Regions from separate parts of the Homo sapiens genome. Here region 2 is linked to region 1. Evidence: promoter capture Hi-C in human tissues and cell types (Jung and others, 2019). All regions are on one chromosome and are shown on one strand. Each heading gives the region's core, a stretch centred on a gene start or on the middle of the fragment in contact. The rest is flanking DNA. Distances are from core to core; before and after follow the strand shown. Region 1 holds the start of ARSF (arylsulfatase F). Region 2 overlaps ARSD (arylsulfatase D).

Region 1 (7,563 bases), core at 2,989-5,488:
TATATAAAATATTATATATAATATATATAAAATTTATCAATTAAAAATAAAAATAAAATGCTGACAAAATAAGAGGTGTTAAATGAATGTATAAGAAACATGAGGTAGCTGAAGTAGGAGTCTTACTCAAACCATCTGCCCTGATCTGTCTATCATCCCATGCTGGGACATGAAAAGGCACATATTCAGAGGACTGGGGGAATTGAGAGAGAGTGAAGGACAGACAGAGTCTTCATCAGGGACGCTCCCACATGGGAAGCCTCCTACCATGAACCTTAAAGACGTGAGTTCTGGAAGGTGTCTGAGAAGAGATTTTCTGTGGTTTTGCCAGAGAGCTGGCAACGAGGTGATGGGAGCAAACCCTTCCTTCATTATTATATTTTCCAAAACTCACAGCATTATTTTGGAGAATTGTTAAGGTAGTAGGAGGGAGATTTAAGAAATAGCCCCAGAGTGTCTTTGTGTTTGCTGCCCTGCATGTTTGCCAGGAAGAACATATTCCTCAGGTATTAGTCTCGTGCTGCTGATAAAGACATACCCAAGACTGGGTAATTTATAAAGGAAAGAGGTTTAATGGACTCACAGTTCCACATCACTGGGGAGGCCTCACAATCATGGCAGGAGGCAAAAGGCACATCTCACATGGTGGCAGGCAAGAGAGAAAAAAGAGCCAAGTGAAACCTCTTATAAAACCATCAGATCTCATGAGGCTTACTCACTACCATGAGAACAGTGGAAACCACCCCCATGATTCAATTATCTTTCACTGGGTTCCTCCTGCAACACGTGGCAATTATGGGAGCTACAGTTGAAGATGAGCTTTGGATGGGGACACAGTCAAACCATATCACCTGAGGTATGGAGAGACTGAAGAAAATGAATGTGCCATTTTTGATCTTTACAGAGGGTTTCAAATTTGCAAATGCTCAAAAATGTTATCCCTCAAAGACCTTTGAGGAAAAAGTTAGTTGATTGACTCCAGCAAAATGGAATGTAATACAAGAAAGGCGAGAGTAGACAAGCACAGTGGCTCATGCCTGTAACCACAGCATTTTGGGAGGCTGAGGTGGGAGGATCGCTTGGGTCCAGGAGTTCAAGACCAGCCTGGACAACATAGTGCAATCTCATCTTTACTAAAAATTCGTTTAAAATTGCTGAGTGTTTACTAAAAATTTGTTTAAAATTGCTGAGTGGCACATGCCTGTAGTCCCAGCTACTCAGAAGGCTGAGGTGGGAGGATCACTTGAGCCCAGGACATTGAAGCTGCAGTGAGCTATGACTACACTACTGCACTCCAGCCTGGGTGACAGAGCAAGACCCTGTCTCAAAATACTACTACTACTACTACTAATAATAATAATAAAAAGAAGAGAGTACACAGGAAGCAGTGCTGAATAAATAAATGTATAAAACAAAGTCTGAATGTGTTAGTGCACAGTTGTGAAAATAATCTGGAATTAACATTTCACATGGGAGGTAATTGAAAGAGCAGAGAAGAAAGAGAGAATGAGCATATGTTCATGTTTTTGTTTCGTCTGGGAAGAAGACATAGGTAATGACTATCTTTATATTTGATAGAAAATATAAGCTTAAATACGTGTGCTGACAGGTGAAAGGTGGTTACCACCAGAAAACTAGAAAAGATGTGTACAAGTTTCAGAGCCTTAATGGGAAATGCGTGGATTGAAGAAAACCTGATTCATGCAATCAGAGGTGGGTGGGAAAGAATTACACCGAAGAAGCAGAAAATCTGATATGTGTAAAAAAGGGAAAATAATATAAAGTGAAACTGCAGGACTCAATCCAAATATAACCATGATCATAATAAACATGGATGGATTAAAATTCCTTTAAAAAAGATAGGCTTTCTGAATGGGAAAATAAACATAAAATCCGGACATACGGTAGTGTAGGAGGCAGCTTAATTAAAAACAAACAAAATGTTGAAAATAAATGGATGCATTTGATATGATTCTGTTCCACTATCCAATCTAAGTAATGGTCAATTATTTTATAGATTGTTCTTCAGTTTTTTTTTTTTTTTTTGAGACAGAGTCTTCCTTTATCCCTCAGGCCGGAGTGCAGTGGTGCGATCTTGGCTCACTGCAACCTCTGCCTCCCAGGTTCAAGCAATTCTCATGCCTCAGCCTCCACAATTGCTGGGAGTAGAGGCACCTGCCACCACGCCCGGCTAGTTTTTGTATTTTTAGTAGAGACGGGGTTTCACCTTGTTGGCCAGGCTGGTCTCGAACTCCTGATGTCAGGTGATCCGCCCGCCTCAGCCTCCCAAAGTGCTGGAATTACAGGCTTGAGCCACTGTGCCCAGCCTTCAGTTTGGTTTTGTCCAGTGTTTTCTCATGATTAGACTGAGGTTATGCATTTTTGGCAAAAAAATCATCAGAATTGATGTAAGTTTTCAGTGTGTCATGTTACGGAGTGCATGATGTCTGTATGTCCTGTCCTGGTGATGTTAAATTTCATCACCTGGATTAAGTGGTGTCTGTTGGAATTCTCCACTGTGAAATTATTATTTTTTCTGATCCAGGAAAGGTTAAGCAAGAGTCTGGCACCATTTTAAGTCTAATAAGAAACATTTACTACCTGATTTCTCTGAAGCCTGCTACCTGCGGGCTACATGTGCATAATAAAAACTTTGGTCTCCTCAACGCCTTATCCTCACCCAGACATTTCCTTTCTACTAATTACAGGTCTTTAATCAGAAAATCCTGGAATCCACCTACGACCTGGAAGTTCCTCACTTTGAATGGAATCCCACCTTTCTGGACTAAGCCAATGTACATCTCACATGTGTCGATTGATGTCTCCTGTCCCCGTAAATTGTATAAAGCCAAGCTGTCACCCAACCACCTTGGGCACTTGTTCTCAGGACCTCCTTGGGGCTGTGTCGTGAGCCATTGGTTAAATGAATAACTCTTTTCAAATATTTTACAGAGTTTGACTCTTTTCATGGACATTAATTGGTGCCCTACACGTGGGGCCTCAGAAAAGACTCAGAATCCTTGACGCAGTTGCCCGAACCCGGAGCTAAGTTACCCGCAGGGCCATTGGAAGCCCTCCCTGGCTTTAGGTTTCTCCTCCAGTGGAACCGGTGAGTCCTCTGCAGCTCTGGACCTTCCATTTGGTTGATGGTCCTTGGTTCATTCTGAGCTGTTTTTCTACCTCCTTTTTATTTTTCTCCTAGGAAGTTGTTGTATAGGATCCTACTTTAGGTTTGGTGGTGCATTCTAAATGGTCTTCTCCACTGCCCTTTTCCCCCCAAATTAATGTCGATTGGCCTGTGAGTACATTTGCGTGAGAGACTGAACTGCCACTTTTGTGGCATAATTTTGAATTGCCAAACGAGAGGCTGACCTCCTCAGCTTGGAAAAGAAAGGGAGTTTTGCTCCTCCTAGCCAAAAACCACCCCTGGGTGGTAGGGGTTGAGTGGGAGTCTCTGGGGGATTGACTCCTGCCATGATGTGCAGTGACCCTACAGGGAACCACACAACAAAATTAATTTTAAGAGGCTCATCCAGGAGACAGGTGTAAGAGCTGATCACTTGCTATGTTGAGCCCTGTCAGAGGTCTAGACCTCTGGAGAGAGAAACTCAGACACGTGAAAGGGTAGAAAGACTCAGTGGTGACACACAGTGTAGTCCCTCTCACAGCCAGCACACTTCAATCCACCCTACTAAAACCCAGGCCACAGTTTAGTTCCTCATTTTAAAATAAAAGTGGGAGACATAGCATGTAAGGATGAGGAAAGGCGGAGAGAGCGACCCCCATTTGGGCACCCCTTTTGGTTCTCTGGTTCCTCTACTTGCAAGTATTTGTGTAAGCGGGAAAAGCTTGAGGGCATGCCAGGTCAAACAAGAAGCTTCCTGTTACATATTATGTCTGTGCTTGTTCACACTTTAAACTGCTGCACACATTACACCAGAGAAAATTCCAGCCCAAAGGTCAACCTGCAACCAATCAGTTCCTAAGTCCTCTATTTTGCTATTTTCTTTTCTGCCTACTTTAAATCTTCTGTTTACTTTTTGTTCTTTTCTTTTCTTTTCTTTTTCTTTTTTTTTTTTTTTGAGACAGAGTCTTGCTCTGTCACCCAGGCTGGAGTGCAATGGCGCTATCTACTGCAGCCTCTGCCTTCCAGGTTCAAGCGATTCTCCTGCCTCAGCCTCCCCAGTAGCTGGGATTACAGACGTGCGCCACCACGTCTACGTAATTTTTGTATTTTTAGTGGAGACAGGCTCTCACCATGTTGACCAGGCTGGTCTCGAACTCCCGACCTCAAGTGATCCGCCGGCCTCGGCCTCCCAAAGTGCTGGGATTACAGGCGTGAACCACCACTCCTGGCCCTTCTGTTACTTTTCCACTGCTGTTGAGATAGAAGTCACTGTTGGGATCCAACCTTTTTGTTTGTATAAACTGGTGAGTTTGTGTTGATATCTCTTGCTAGAGTTCTGAAGTAAAAGCTATAGGATCTTTGTGTGAGTGTGCATGCGTATTTAGATGTGTTTATGTACATGCACATATGTGTGCACATATACATTTTTTACGTGCTTTAGCCCTGAAGTGTCAAATTGGCTTCAAGTCAAAGAGTACTCATAAATTAAATAATAAGCCAAAACGCTTTTCAAGTTCACGTGACTTACATAAATCTTTAATAAATAAGCTGGCTTTAAAATTATTGGTACGATAGTATTAGAAATATCTTAAAAATTGTCAGCATACATGTTTGTTTGCATTTACTGATCAAGCAGTTTCATATTTACCTCTGACAGATATTATAAGGTGTCAAAATTTGGCATAAGGCTTACAAAACTATAAACCCAGCAACCCAGCATGAAACACAATAATCTTTGTTTCTGTACTTTTTGAGAAATAAGACGTTTAATGTTATTAGTGTAGTAAAAAGAGCTAAATCCCAAGTTATCAGTAAAATATATATATATTTAAAATTTTTGCTTAGGCAAACACAGAAAATTCATAGACTATAAAAATGGTTAACAGGGAAATAACTTTAAATGATGACTATCAGAGTTTTCACAGATAATCTAGGTAAAAGATTTTATAAAATTAATTAGGTAAATGTAATGAAACAAATGCCTGTAAATAAATATAATTTAGAATCTAAAGTTAAATAATAGATATTCACTAAATGTCTGGGCCATTTTCAATTTAAATAAATTGTATTATAGAAAAACTTTTCTAAAAAATATGTTCTTATTCAAAGCTAAGTTATTTTCATCTAATTCCATGTTTATTTATTTATATTTTTTGAGATGGAGCCTCGCTCTGTCTCCCAGGCTGGAGTGCAATGGTGCAGTCTCAGCTCACTGCAACCTCTGCCTCCCAGGTTCAAGCGATTCTCCTGCCTCAGCCTCCCTTGTAGCTGGGATTACAGGTGCCCACCACCATGCCTGGCTAATTTTTGTAATTTTAGTAGAGATAGGGGTCTTGCCATGTTGGCCAGGCTGGTCTCGAACTCCTAACCTCAGGTGATCCACCCACCTAAGCCTCCCAAAGTGCTGGGATAACAGGTGCAAGCCACCGCACCCGGCCAGATTCTAGGTTTATTTAAGGGTTATTTATGAAATATGGTAAAAGGAACCAAGAAACAAGAGATGTAAAGAAAGTTAGGCTGCGTGCATTGGGTCACACCTGTAATCCCAGCACTTTGGGAGGCTGAGGCAGGCGGATCATGAGGTCAGGAGTTTGAGACCAGCCTGACCAACACAGTGAAACCCCACCTCTACTAAAAATATAAAAATTAGTCAGGCATGGTGGCATGTGCCTGTAATCCCAGCTACTCAGGAGGCTGAGGTAGGAGAATTGCTTGCACCCGGGAGGCAGAGGTTGCAGTGAGCCAAGATCGTGCCACTGCACTCCAGGCTGGGTGACAGAGCGAGACTACTCCATCTCAAAAAAAAAGAAGAAGAAAGTTACAAGGAGGTATTTTTGGTAAGAAATGTTAAAAGAAAAATAATTTTGTATGAGAAAGAATCTTGTTGTTTAAGAGAGATGTTTAGGACAGAACAGAAAATCCAAGCAGGTTGTATATGGTCTGTGCAAGTCATAATACAGTCTGTAAAAAAGGAATTCAAAAAAATTTTTATGTAATTAAGTTTGCTATAACTAAAAGGAAATTATAATCATTCTAGGTATTGGACTTCAATAATAAAAATACAGTAATGCAAAAGGAGATCATTGGTTAGAACAAGATTTTCTTAAAATACTGATGTACTCAGTGAAATTGCAAGAAGTTTTTTATTTTTGAATTCCATAATCTCTTCTTGAAATTCTTCAGATGGACATCCTAGGGGTTCCACTTCTGCTGCATCCTGCTTGCCTCAGAGCTTTCCCTCTTTTGAAAAGGCCTGGGATGGTAACTCTCTCCTTCAACTTTTGCTGGCTCCCGTAATTTTTTAAAAATTAATAGTCTAAAGGAAGAGAGAGAATTTTTGAAAACAGGCAAGTGAAAAATGTTATAGGATGTGCCTCTATCTGTGTGTCTGTCTATAAGTTTATTTATTGTCTGTTTGTTTGATTGATTTGTTTATTTTGGAGACAGGGTCTCACTCTGTCACCCAGGCTGGAGCGCAGTGGTGTGATCTTGGTTCACTGTTCCCTTGAGCACTGGGCTCAAGGGATCCTCCTGCCTCACCTCAGCCATCCATGTAGCTGGAACCACAGGTGCATACTATCTCGCCCAGCTAATTTTTTGTATTTTTTATGTAGAGATGGGGTTTTGCCATGTTGGCCAGGCTGGTCTCAGTCCTGAGCTCAAGCGATCCACCCGTCTTGGCCTCCTAAAGTGCTAGGATTACAGGCGTGTGGCACCATGCCTGGCCTTGTCTGTAAGTTTCTATCTGTCATGAGGAAGTAATATTTCAGTACCAAATTATATGAAAGAGCTCTAATCAAATGGCTTAAAGAAAAGTAAGTGCTTATCAGACAACCAAAAGCTAGCTCAGATGCTTTTAATTGACATTCCTTTAGTAATCTTTGGTAAGACTAATTTGGTAAATTTAATTTCAAAATCCTGTCCAGTGGTTTAAAATCTTAGAGTCACGTTAGATGGGACTGTTCCCCTGACCTTGACCCCCTTCGTGGGCAGGAACTGGAGTGGCTCATGTTACTCAGCCTGCAGTTTGTGGACAGCTATGTGTTAACAGCTCAGTGAAGGGTCAAGGTGACAGCCTTCTGCATCTGTCCTTTTGGACACCGACTTCTTGTTTGGTGTCCAAGAATCATCAGGTCACACAAACTGAAAGATGATGAATGTGGAGGACTTTATTGAGCAGTGGAAGTGGCTCTTGGTGGAAGAGGAGCTGGAAAGGGGATGGTGTGTGAAGAAGGTGATGTTTCTCTGAAGCCTAGCCTTCTCTGGCTGGGCTCCCCTCCAAAACCACACCGTCTGAAGTTAGTCATGTTTATCTGTAGTCTCCAATGCTCAGTTACTTCTCTGCTCGCCACTCAGTAGCTTGTATCCCTGCCGGTCAGCTGCTTGTGTTGCTTTTTTCTTTTTCTTTTTCGTTTTTCTTCCTGCCAGCTGGTCTG
Region 2 (7,563 bases), core at 2,444-4,943, 130 kb before region 1:
AGACCCCAAGACACATGGCCACATGGGTAAAGGAGATGGTGGCGCATGCCTGTAATCCCAGCTACTCGGGAGGCTGAGACAGGAGAATTGCTTGAACCCAGGAGGCGGAGGCTGCAGTGAGCCGAGATCATGCCATTGCACTCCAGCCTGGGCAAGAGTGTGAGACTCTGTCTCAAAAAAAAAAAAAAAAAAAAGCTTATTTATGTAACCAAATACCACCTGTTCCCCAAAATCCTATTGAAATAAAAAAAAAAAACTAAAAACAATTAAAAAAAATCAGGGAACAGGCAGCCTTATCTCCACGTACCTGTCCTGGGGCACCTCGCCACCCACCAGCTGGACCACAGTAGGGAACACGTCCATCAGGCTCGTGGGCTCTCCAATCACTCGGCCGGCCGGGAGCACCCCCGGCCAGTGGAAGATCCCGGGCACGCGGATCCCACCTTCCCATCCTCCCATGCCCTTCCCACCTGTAAGTAGAAGACATCGTTAGGATTTTGCCGGAAACTGCCCAGTCTGTACACACATCTGGATGTATTTGTGCATAGGTATGTGAATACGCACAGCCACCCGGATGCACACATGCACACTGGGGCAGCCTCAGCTTCCCAAAAACAGCCACAGCAATATTTCCAGAATCATGCTACTCCCTGGCCTCTTGAATATCGGTGGGTCGCTGTGGCTGATTCAACTGTTCTAGTCGATCTATGCTACCTTTATTTAGAATAAAATAATGTATTAAAATATTCATTAAATTTAATAATTTAAAAATGTTTGTTAACTATCAATAATTTTTAAAATATGTATTATTATGCATCAATATTAATTGATGCATTTAAAATATTAAAATAGTAATAAATTTATTAAATATTTAAAAATTAAGACTATAATAAAATAAATTTTAATTTTATCTGAATTATTTATTTATACCTCTCTGTATTCTACTAAAATGTAAACCCTTTAAAGGAAGGGGATGTGACTTTTTATCTGCCTGTCCTGCTCATCTAGGTAGAACTTGTACTACAGTAGGTGCTCAATGCATTCTTTTTGAAATGAGCAAACTCATTTTCAGTTCAACTTGTTCTGGGACCCTCAGTGGTGGCAGATATTTGGTCGAATGCATATGTGTCCCCGATGTCCACAACTCACCTTTGTAAATTCCGTTCCATCCCCCTAACTGGCTGTGTCCATCTCTTGCCTCTAAATGTCCTCCATGGTCAGAGGTGAAATACGTGAATGTTGAGTTCTTTAAACCATTGTCTTCGATGGCATTAAGAACCTTACCTTTACAGAAAATGGAAAGTTTCAGGACCAAGAAAACAAAGCAGCATCCACTAGTTCAATGCGCTTCTTCCTTTCTGCAGGAGACACCTCTTGCCAGGAAGTCATAAGAAGAGACCACACTTACTCGGAGGCCGTGGTTACAATGTGATCCCAAAGTGTAAGACATAGCTAATCACTGTGATACCACAGGACTGTTTACAATGCAAACCAACAATAAAATTCGAAGCCCCCCAACCGACTGATGGACTCTCCCTTCAGCCAAGGCCATTCCAAAGTTAACCTGAAAAACTAGGTCAGGCCGGGCCTGGCGGCTCACACCTGTAATCTCAGCACTTTGGGAGCCTGAGGTGGGTGGATCACCTGAGGCCAGGAGTTCAAGACCAGCCTGGCCATTATGGTGAAACCTCATCTCTACCAAAAACACAAAAATTAGGCAGGTGTGGGGGGTGCACGCCTGTAATCCCAGCTACTTGGGAGGCTGAGGCAGGAGAATCGCTTGAACCCAGGAGGCAGAGGTTGCAGTGAGGTGAGATTACACTACTGCACTCCAGCGAGGGTGACAGAGTGAGACTGTTTCAAAAAAAACCCAAAAGAGGGCCAGGTGTGGTGGCTCACGCCTGTAATCCCAGCACTTTCGGAGGCTGAGGCGGGTGGATTACGAGGTCAGGAGATTGAGACCATCCTGGCTAACACCGTGAAGCCCCGTCTCTACTAAAAACACAAAAAATTAGCCAGGCATGGTGGCGGGAGACTGTAGTCCCAGCTACTTGGGAGGCTGAGGCAGGAGAATGGTGTGAACCCAGGAGGCGGAGCTTGCAGTGAGCCGAGATCGCACCACTGCACTCCAGCCTGGGCGACAGGGTGAGACTCCATCTCAAAAAAAAAAAAAAAAGAAAAAAAAAACCAAAAGAAACAAAAAACAAAAACAAGGTCAGGCCATGTTGGAAAGTAGTGGGGGCGGGGGGAGTGGTGGACATGCGTCATGATACCCTCCTCCCTTTGGAATTCAGGCACAACTGACCAGCATTCACATTGAAACAGAGACCTATGACTGAGAGAAGGCCAGGCACAGTGGCTCATGCCTGTCATCCCAGCACTTTGGGAGGCCGAGGCAGGAAGATCCATTGAGCTCAGGAGTTCAAGACCAGCCTGGGCAACATGGTGAAACCCTGTCTCTACAAAAAATACAAAAATTAGCCAGGTATGGTGGCACATGCTTGTATGTAGTCCTAGCTACTCGGGAGGCCGAAGTGGGAGGATTGCCTGAGCCTGGGAGGTCAAGGCTGCAATGAGTCAAGATCACACCATGCACTCCAGCCTGGGCAACAGAGTGAGACCCTGTTTAAAAAAGAAAAAAAAGACTGATAGAACAGACTCTTTAAGTCTGATAAGAAACATTTACCATGTATTCTCTCTGAAGCCTGCTACCTGGAGGCTTCTTTGGCATTATGAAACCTTGGCCTCCACAACCCCTTATCATAACCCAGACATTCCCTTCTATTGATTCTCAGATAATAACTCAACCACCTGCCAATCAGAAAATCTGTGAATCCGCCTTTGACCTGGAAGCCCCCCTTTCAGTGGTCTTGCCTTTCTGCACTGAACCAAGGTACGTCTTACACGTGCTGATTGATGCCGTATGTCTCCCTAAATGTATAAAGCTGAGCTGCATGCCGACCACCTTGAGTACATGTTCTCAGGACCTCCTGAGGGCTGTGTCACAGGCCACTTGTCACTCATATTTGGCTCAGAATAAATCTCTCCAAATATTTTACGGAGTTTGACTCTTTCGGTCGACCCCAAGATACCACCAATACAAAACACAGAATGAACACACAACGCCAAGAGGTTGCCAGTGAGCACGCTTTTTTAAACATAGTGCCGTGTGTGTGTGTCACATAATAAAGACACTGGGGAGAGGGAAATGGTGAGACTCAGTGATGACAGAACCCTATGTAGGAGGAAGCAGGGCTGTAACTAGCATCTATGGGCATTGGCGTATTGGAGGCTGATGGCTCAGCAGCGCAGAGGACGCCCTGCAAACCAAGCAGTTGCTTTATCCCTGGAGGCCACTGGTCATTGAAAGCACTGAAAGTCAAAATGATATAAACCACAAGGTCATCTGTAGCTCTGAAAATGCAGACTTTGAAGCCTGCTGTAAACTGAAAAGTATCTGAGGCGGGTCTCAATCCATTTAGAAAGTTTATTTTGCCAAGGTTAAGAATGACACAGCCTCAGGAGGCCCTGATGACATGTGCCCACCGTGGCTGGGGCAAAGCTTGGTTTTGTATACTTTAGGGAGACATGAGACATCCATCGCTACATGTAAGATGTACATTGGTTGAGCTGGAAAGGTGGAACAACTGGAAGTGGGGAATTTAAACATATTCTCATTGGTAACTGATTGAAAGAGTTATCAATAGAAAGGAATGTCTGGGTTATGATAAGGAGTTGTGGAGACCAAGCTTTTATCATGCAGATGAAGCCTCTAGGTGGCAGGCTTCAGAGAAAATAGATTGTAAATGTTTCTTATCAGAGTTAAGGTCTGTGTGGATGTTCATGCTGCGGGGGGTAGAATGAGGCAAGCCCAACCCCCTCTTCCCGTTATGGCATGAACCAGTCTCTCAGGTTAAATTTTAGGGTGCCCTGGCAAAGGAGGGAATCCATTCAGATGGTTGTGGGGGGCCTTCGAATTTATTTTTGGTTTACACTGTGAACCAATCCCGCCCTATCACTATGCTTGTCTCGGGAGATATGTTCAGATTCTGCAAGGATTTTAATATCTACACTCTCTTAAGAATCTGCAGCCTCGTTGGTCCTCTCCAGGGTTTCTTCAAGGCCATAGAAGGAAGGTGACCTCTCTGCATTGTCCGAACTTTATTGCTTTAGTTTCTGTAACTTCTAATGAGGCTGTTAAGTCATTGGCTGTGTAGAAGGTTGACAATATAGTTTGGATGTGTGTCCCCGCCCAAATCTCATGTGGAATTGTCATCCTCAGAATCGGCGGTGGGGCCTGGGGGGAGGTGACTGAATGATGGGGACAGAGTTCTCATGAATGGTTGAGCACCATCCCCCGCTTGGTGCTGCGGAGGGAGTAGCTTCTCACGAGATCTGGTTGTTTAAAAGTGTGCGGCTCTTCCTCTCCTCTCTTGGTCCTTCTCCTGCCACAAGACGCCTGCTCCCCCTTCGCCTTCCACCATGAGCAAAAGCTCCCCGAGGTCTCCCCAGAAGCAGATGCTGCCATGCTTCCTGTGCAGCCTGCAGAACCGTGAGCCAATCCAACCTCTTTTCTTTATAAATTACCCAGTCTCAGGTATTTCTTTGCAAGAATGGACTAATACAGTTGATTTTGTGCAAAATTAGACTAAGTAATCAGAAATACTGAAGGACCAAATAAATGATATGAGAGAAGTTTTTCTCCCTATTCTTCGTCTTTTATTTCTTTTTTTTTTTGGAGACAGGGTCTTGCTATGTGGCCCAGGCTGGAGTTCAGTGGTGCAATAATTATAGCTCATTGCAGCCTCAGCCTCCTGGGCTCAAATGATCTTCCCACCTCAGCCTCTGGAGTAGCTGGGACCACAGGTGCACACCACCATGGCTAATTTTTTAAATTTTTTGTAGAGATGGGGGGGGGGGGCGTCTCACTATGTTGCCCAGGCTGGTCTTGAACTCCTGGTCTCAAGCCATCTCCCTGCCTTAGCCTCCCAAAATGCTGGGATTAAAGGCATGAGCCACCTTGCCCCACCTGAAAATGCAGACTTTTAAGACTGTGAACTCTATCACGATGCTTGTCTCAGGAGACACATTCAGATTCTGCAAGAATTTTAATGTCTATGCTCTTTTAAGAATCTGCAGCCTCACTGGTCCTCTCCAGGGTTTCTTGAAGGCCATAGAAGGAAGACAGCGTGTCTGCATTGTCCTGAACATTAACTTTATCGCTTCACTTTCGGTAACTTCTGATGATGACATGAAGTCACTGGCTGTGTAGAAGGTTGATTTTGTGCAGAATTAGACCAAGTAATTGGGAATACTGAAGAAGCAAATAAATGATATGGGAGTGTGTTCTGCCCCCATTCTTTGTACTATTATTATTATTAAAGAGACAGGGTCTCACTCTGTTGCCCAGCCTGGAGTACAGCAGTGCAATCTCAGTTCACTGCAGCCTTGACTTCCCAGGCTCAAGCGATCCTCCTGCCTCAGCCTCCCGAGTACCTGGGACTACAGGCGTGTACCATTATGCCTGGCTAAGCATTTATTTTTGTAGAGATGGGGTCTCACTATGTTGTGCAAGCTGGTTTTGAATTCCTGACCTCAAGTGATCTGTCCATCTGGGCCTCCCAAAGTGCTAAGAGTAACTCTTATTCTTTTTCTTTTTTTTTGAGACGGAGTCTTGATCTTTCACCCAGGCTGGAGCACAGTGGTGCGATCTCAACTCACTGCAACCTCTGCCTCCCGTGTTAAAGCGATTCTTGTACCTTAACCTCCCGAGTAGCTGGGACTACAGGTGTGCACCACCACACCGGGTTAGTTTTTGTATTTTTAGTAGAGACAGGGTTTCACCATGTTGCCCAGGCTGGTCTCAAACTCCTGACCTCAGGTGATCCGCCCGCCTTGGCCTCCCAAAGTGCTGGGATTACAGGCGTGAGCCACCGCCCTTATTCTTTATTGCAAGTTGGTTCATATTCAGATGGCCAGTCTGTTACGCCCTATGTTCAAACCTGAGGCCGAGGGTGGAGTGAGGCTCCATGGTACCTTGACTTACCTATGAGCCAGTCCATCTCCTCCACATTATCACCATATAAGCCATGCTGACTTTTCCCCAGGAATGCACTCGTGGTCACAAGGGGAATGTGCACATGCAGCAAAGAAAGGAAGAGGAGAAATGGCCCATGCTTGTGTCTGAAAGAAGAAAACTTCCTTGAGAATACACAGAATATACAGTACACCAAAGGGACCCCTGCACCCATACGTTCACTCCAGCACTATTCACAAGAGCCAAGGCAGGGGATCACCTTCTGAGTTCATCAGTGGGTGAACACAGAAAGAATAAATGGTGGGCCAGGCGTGGTGGCTCATGCTTGTAATCCCAACACTTTGGGAGGCTGAGGCGGGAGGATCACTTGAGGCCAGGAGTTCAAGGCCAGCCTGGGCAACACGGTGAAATGCCATCTCTACCAAAAATAGAAAAATTAGCTGGGCGTGGTGGCTTGAGTCTGTGGTCCCAGCTACTTGGGAGGCCGAGGTGGGAGGACGGCTTGAGCCCGGGAGGTGGAGCTTGCAGTCAGCCATGATCATACCACTGCACTCCAGCATGGGTGACAGAGCCAGACCCTGTCTCAAAAAAAAAAAAAAAAAAAAAGAATATATTGTATATGTCCACAATGGAATACTATTCAGCCATAAAAAAGAATGGAGGCTGGGCACAGTGGCTCAAGCCTGTAATCCCAGCACTTCGGGAGGCTGAGCCTGGCAGCTCAGTTGAGGTCAGGATTTCAAGACCAGCCTGGCCAACATGGTGAAATGGTGAAACCCCATCTCTACTAAAAATAAAAAAATTAACAGGGTGGGGTGGCAGGTGCCTGTAATCTCGGCCACTCAAGAGGCTGAGGCACGAGAATTGCCTGAGCCTTGGAGACAGAGGTTGCAGTGAGCCATGATCACACCACTGCTCTCCAGCATGGGTGACAGAGCCAACGCTGTCTCAGAAAAAAAGGTTATATCTGGTATATGTACGTGATGGAATACTATTCAGCCATCAAAAAGAATGAAATCCTGTCATTTGCAGCAATACAGATGAAACAGGAGGTCACTATGTTAACTAAAATAAGCCAGGCACAGAATGACCAATACTGCATGTTGTCACTCATATGGGAGAGCTAAAAAAAAATCGATCACATGAAGATAGAGAATAGAATGATAGAGACCAGAGGCTGGGAAGGGTGAAGGACAAAGAGAAGTGGTTTAAAGAGTACAAACATACAGTAAGCTTAAAGGAGTACATTCAACGTCTGATAGCAGAGTAGGGTGACCAAAGCTAACAAAATGTATTGTACTCAGGAGATGGACACTGTAAGTATGCTGTTTGATCGTTATTCAGTGTATACATGTAACAAAATTTCACACATACCCCATACATTTGTACAAATTAAAAAGTAAGGGCCAGGCACGGTGGCTCACGCTTATAATCCCAGCACTTTGGAAGGCAGAGGTGGGAGGATGGCTTGAGCCCAGGAATTCAAGACCAGCTTGGGCCATATAGTGAGACATTGTCTCAAAAAA

What was found. Contacts are between HindIII fragments. The study calls those that stand out against the background at their distance.
Region 2: a fragment that was not itself captured here is called in contact with the fragment with the promoter of ARSF in region 1 in 1 of the 25 tissues and cell types used here (pancreas).

The regions. Positions count from the first base shown.
Region 1 is chrX:3,037,233-3,044,795 of GRCh38, forward strand. It overlaps ARSF (arylsulfatase F), which reads left to right and starts at 4,239. Exons shown (of 11, transcript NM_001201539.2): 1 at 4,239-4,431. The HindIII fragment of the contact is 6,572 bases long and covers 2,719-7,563 here.
Region 2 is chrX:2,909,510-2,917,072 of GRCh38, forward strand. ARSD (arylsulfatase D) reads right to left here. Exons shown (of 10, transcript NM_001669.4): 6 at 6,047-6,183; 7 at 1,150-1,284; 8 at 308-470. Among named protein-coding and RNA genes, the nearest start is that of ARSD-AS1, 8.4 kb to the left of the region's middle. The HindIII fragment of the contact is 3,631 bases long and covers 1,879-5,509 here.